Linked DNA regions of Homo sapiens: region 2 is linked to region 1. Evidence: promoter capture Hi-C in human tissues and cell types (Jung and others, 2019). All regions are on one chromosome and are shown on one strand. The core of a region is centred on a gene start or on the middle of the fragment in contact, and the rest is flanking DNA. Distances in the headings are between cores, read along the strand shown. Region 1 holds the start of ZNF347 (zinc finger protein 347). Region 2 has its middle 26 kb from the start of ZNF577.

The links. The method cuts DNA at HindIII sites, captures the fragments that hold promoters and counts their contacts. A contact is called where the count stands out against the background at its distance.
Region 2: a contact is called between a fragment that was not itself captured here and the fragment with the promoter of ZNF347 in region 1, in 1 of the 25 tissues and cell types used here (adrenal gland).

What each region holds. Positions count from the first base shown.
Region 1 is chr19:53,157,681-53,160,432 of GRCh38, reverse strand. It overlaps ZNF347 (zinc finger protein 347), which reads left to right and starts at 1,380. Exons shown (of 5, transcript NM_032584.3): 1 at 1,380-1,424. RefSeq lists a silencer at 1,198-1,447 and an enhancer at 1,183-1,477. The HindIII fragment of the contact is 7,458 bases long and covers 1-2,752 here.
Region 2 is chr19:51,860,938-51,863,767 of GRCh38, reverse strand. It overlaps a transcript of ZNF577 not described here and the pseudogene LOC100419706. Among named protein-coding and RNA genes, the nearest start is that of ZNF577, 26 kb to the left of the region's middle. The HindIII fragment of the contact is 3,923 bases long and covers 1-2,830 here.

The DNA.
Region 1 (2,752 bases), core at 131-2,630:
AACGTTTAATATTTTGTTAAAGTGAAAACTATACGGTGTATATAAATAAGGGTGTTGTTTGGAGATAAAATTGTGTGACATGAAAATGTACATAAGACAATAGCAGGTATAAACTAGGTTCTCTATAAACATGAAAAAAGGGTATCCCTGTGAGTCTTTAGTTCAGTCAATGTACTGGGATGGTACGTTAGAAATACTGGAAAACTATTCTTTAGGCGAAAATAAATCCAATTGTCATGTGGTGACTATTTTCCACACTCTGTTATCCACATCTGATAGAACATTAAGAAACAGAAAACAAAAAAATAGACCCAATATAGATTACAATTTTAAAATAAAAAGTACTGTGTCAAGTTCCCTTCAGAATGCCCATAAAGTGAATTTGAAATTACATGATATTTAGAAATTATTGATTTAAGCATATTTTGATGCAAAGAAAGATTATGTCAAAGTTGTTTGTGGTTAAGTCATTTCAAGTGTGGAACGGAATAACGAATATAAGCAAAAATAATGCAGTTTATCTCTATTTTTTAAAAATTCACATGGTTTAAATCAGTAGTTGACTGGGCACAGTAGTTCACTCCTGTAATCCCAGCAATTTTGGAGGCCCAGGCAGGAGGATTGCTTGAGGTCAAGAGTTGGAGACCAGCCTGGGCCGAGACTCCCATCTTTACAAAAATATATGTTTTAAAGAACAATAAAGCAGCCCTTGGTGATCTAACTTATCGGCCTTAACCTTCCCATGAATTGAGCACAGGCTTGACTCTTCCACTGGGGAGAATGGGGATTTGAAATGTAAAGGAGGTTCTGTTGGGCTACTGCATTAAATTGCATATCCGTCCAGGTAGGATGCTGCATTTCCCATTCTACTTTGAATCATCCTCAGAGATAATTTCCAGACATTTTAGTTAAATTAAATACATTTTAATTGCAGGAATTGCTGGATCCAATCGCCGTGCCTCGTGGATCCTCCACTAAGATCCCAGTTCCCAGACCGAGATCCCCGATTCCCAGATCCCCGTTCCTGAGCTGCAGCAGACTCCCTAGCAGGACTGGGTCCAACCCGCCGGCAAACAATTTTAACATAAACCGTTTTCAACTTGGTAAGAGGAAATCATTTTGGTTTCTATCATAAGTGGTCCACGTAAGTCTATTCTTTCACCTTAAAACTGCTTCAAATTGGAACGGTGCTCCCGGGGACATAGTGAACACTCCAGCGTTTCTAAACCGGGAAAAATGAGACTGCGGGCTAGGCAGGCTGAGGGAAGCGCAGACCCCGCCCCAGCTCCGCCCCAGCGTTTCGTCCGCAGACCCCGCCTCTCCCCAGGCCCCGCCCCCAGAGTGCCCGGGCTCTTTTCCGCGCACGCGCAGTTTTCTGCAGTTCCGGAAGCGGATCGTGTTGGGTGCGGGTGACGCCGCCGAGCGTGAGTGTCCCTCAGTATGGATTAAACTTGCGAACCGCCGTGCCCCGTTTCCGCAGCCAGTTCCCGGGCTCGCTACAGACCTTTTTTTTTTTCTTTTTTTTTTTTTTTGGTGAGACGGAGATTTACTCTTGTTGTCCAGGCTGGAGTGCAATGGCGCGATTTCGGCTCACCGCATCCTCCGCCTCCCAGGTTCAAGCGATTCTCCTGCCTCAGCCTCCCGAGTAGCTGGGATTACAGGCATGTGCCACCACGCCCGGCTAATTTTGTATTTTTAGTAGAGACGGGGTTTCACCGTGTTGCCCAGGCTGATCTCGAACTCCTGACCTCAGGTAATCCGCCCGCCTCGGCCTCCCAAAGTGCTGGGGTTACAAGCGTGAGCCACTGCGCCCGGCAGCTACAGACCTTAAGATCCCCGCACCGCGCCCTCCACCCCAGCTGACTCGCGGTGTGGGTTCGGAGTCGCTTCTCTTTGGGTTGAAGTAGCTCTGAGGCTTCTCCCTGTCCCCGGCCTTTCGCGTCTTCCTCCCGCTTAAAACCCTTTCCTGACCCCTCCTCCCGCCCCGGGCTTTTTAAAGTCCTCGCCCGCGAGGTGGATTCCCGCCCTGGGTGCCTCCCAGCCTCGCCCTCGTCGGCCCCTGGAGCGCAGCTCCTCAGCCCCGGTACCGGCGAGGCCGCGTCCTCTGCCTGGTCCTGGCATCCTGCAGACCCCACCCCTCTTCTAAGGCGCCGTCGCCCCGCCACCTCCCTCCTCCTCGTGCCGGGCCCTGCTGCTCCCCAGGCCTCCCCTTCGCAGTCCCCGCTTCTCCTGAGCCCGCGCTGGGGAGGTGCCCGGGGCCTGTCCTGTGACACCCGGTGTTCTTGCCTGCCCAGCTCCAGCCCCTGGAAAATGCGCTCCTCCAAGATGCAGGCGTCTTAGTCCAAACCTTCCTGTGAATGTGTGGACCAAGGGGATTAGCAGGTAGAGAAAGGGGCAGAGACAGAGAGAGAAGTAGAAAAACTGAGAGGAAAGAGTGAGGGAAACCCGTAACCAGATGGCAAAGTAGAGGATGGGCGAGGGATTTGCAGATGGTAAGAGAAGGAGCTGAGAAGGCAGAAGGAGAAAAGCAACTGGGGAAATGTAGAGAAAAGCTCGATGTCCAGAGACATGAAGGACAGCAAGGTAGGGAGAGGGCCAGAAAGTGGGAGGCTCCTCAGACAGAGTCCGGGAGAGGAGGAGGGATTTGGAGCCAGGGCAGACAAGCAGCGTGGTGCTGGGACAGCAAGAGGGGACAGCCGGTGACGAGGAGAGCAGAAGGAGAACCACAGCAGGGGGAGGCCTGGGATCTGGG
Region 2 (2,830 bases), core at 80-2,579, 1.3 Mb after region 1:
AGGCCATTATACTTAGTGTCCCTATGTATGTTTTCATCAATATCTTTATTTTTATTTTCTCCTTTTGAAAATGCTTGTCTCCAAATGGTCTAGATTTAATGAGATGTTCCAAAATGATACACAAAATTCTTGCACATTCTTTTTGCAAATTTCCCCAAAATATGATTTTACCAATTTGCTTTATTTTATCTATACACACACACCACACACAGGTACATATGGTTTTTCTGAACTCTACCCTAAAACCCAAGTGTGTATTTCATAGGAAGAAGAGCATTCTTTTGCATAATCAGAATACTGTGATCAAAATCAGAATATTGACATTGATATAGTATTATTATTTAAAATACAGAGCTTACTCAAATTTAACCATCTTACTAATATCTTTTTATGGTAAATGGGAAAAGAAGCCTTTTTCTGGACCTCTTCTTGTTATCTCACTTACTCTGTTGTGCGTACACTAGCTTTCATAACATCCAGAAGTCAGAGCTTGCTAATTATAACCAATTCTTTTTGGAAAGAAATCATATGGATGCAGTGAATGTGCAGTGAATACTTGTAAACTACTCATGACCATGCCTCAGAGAACTCATGCAGGAAACAAATCCCAGGAATCTCATGATTTTAGGAGAGCCCTTCCCAGTGAGTTAAAGCTCATTGCTCATCAGCAAACTCAAACAGGAGTGAGACCCTACTGATGCAATCAATGTCAAAAAGCCTTCATTACAAATTCAGGGCTTGTGTATCATCAGAAAACTCATCATAGAGAAGGGAAAGTCTGTACATGCAGCAAATGTGGAGAAGTTTTCCCTTGGAAGTCAGAACTCATTTTATGTCAAAGAAATCATTCAGGAGAGAGACCGTTCATTTGCAAAGTATGTGATAAAGGCTTTGTGGTTAGGACACATCTCACTGTACATCAGAGAGCTCACACAGGAGAGAAACCATATGCTTGCTCAGATTGTGAAAAAGCCTTCTCAAAAAAGGCTTTATTCATGATTCATCAGTGAATTCACACAGGAGAGATACCCTATTAATGCATTCAATGTCAAACAGCTTTGAAGACCAGATCTGAGCTCAGTTATCCTCAGAAAGTTCTTCATAGAAAAGGAAAATTCTATGGATGCAGTAAATGTGGGAAAGCTTTTCCTTGGAAGTCGAACCTCATTTTGCATCTCAGAACTCATTCAGGAGAGAGACCTTTCAGGTGCAAAGTCTATCATAAAGCCTTCATGGTTAGAACACAGCTAACTATACATCAGAGAACTCACACAGGAGAGAAACCATATGCTTGCTTGGATTATGAGAAAGCCTTCTTGAAAAAGGCTCAGCTTATGAAGCATCAGTGAATTCATACAGAAGAAAGACCCTATGGATGCAGTGAATGTCAAGAAGCTTTCATCTGGAAGTTGGATCTCAACAATCATAAGAAAACTCATCATGCAGTAAGGAAATCCCATGAATGCAGTGAATGTGGGAAGGTTTTATCCTCCAAAAAAAACTTTGTTATACATCAGAGAACCCATACAGGTGAGAAACCCTTCAAATGCAATGTATGTGATAAAGCCTTCACATCAAAGGGAAATCTCATTGTATATCAGAGAACTCATATAGGAAATAAATCATATGAATGCTCAGACTGTGATAGGGCCTTCTCCAGTAAGGTATATCTCATGACTCATCAGCCAATTCACACAGGAGAGAGACCCTATGATGCAATGAAGGTCAACAAGCTTTCACCCAAAAGACAGGTCTCAGTAAGCATCGAAAAACTTGCCATGCAAGAATGAAATCTTATGGATACAGTGGATGTGGGAAGGTTTTGTCCTGTAAGTCAACTCTCATTATATAACAGAGAACCTATACAGGTGAGAAACTCCTCAAATGTAGCATGTGTAATAAAGCCATCATAGTTAAATCCTGTCTCACTGTACATTAGAGAATTCATACAGGAGAGAAACCATATAAATGCAGTGATTGTAAGAAAGCATTCGCTACTTTGTAAACTCTCATTGGTCACCAGAGAACTCACACAGGAAAGAGGCCCTATAGATGCAGTGAATGTCAAAAAGCTTTACTCAGAAATCAGCTATTACTAATCATCAGAAACCCCAGCAGGAAGGAAGAAAGTCCATGCAGTGACTTGGAATATGAGAGAGCTTTTTTGATTAGTCACATCAGCTCAGACACAATAGAAGTTCCATGAATACTATGATTGTAATGGGCCCTTTTGGAACTCTTGTGGGAGAGAAACCTTATAGATGCAATGAATATTTTAAGCCTTCTTTTTTGAAGATATCCCTCGTTTACCGTAGAGATCTCACAAGAAGAATCATTGGCCAGGCGCATTGGCCCATGCCTGTTATCTCAGCACTTTGGGAGGCTGAAGCAGGCAGATCACTTGAGGTTGGGAGTTCGAGACCAGCCTGGCCAACATGATGAAACCCTGTCTCTACTAAAAATACAAAAAAAAAAAAAAACAAATAGCCAGGTGTGGTGTGCACACCTGTAATCCTAACTACTCAGGAGGCTGAGGCAGGAGAATCTCTTGAACCTAGGAGGTGGAGGTTGCAGTAAGCCGAGATTGCACCAGTGTACTCCAGCCTGGGTGACAGAGTGAGACTCTGTCTCAAAAAAAAAAAAAAAAAAAAAAAGAGAGAGTCAATTATGAGTGCAGTGATTGTCAAAAAAGTTTATTAGAAAACTAGAAGCTTTCCATTTAGTAGGCAGCACCAGTGGATGTAATGAAAATGATAAATCATTCTCAAATTATATTTGTTACACATTAGGGTATTCATTCAGGAGAAGGACCCTACAGATGGAGGGAATG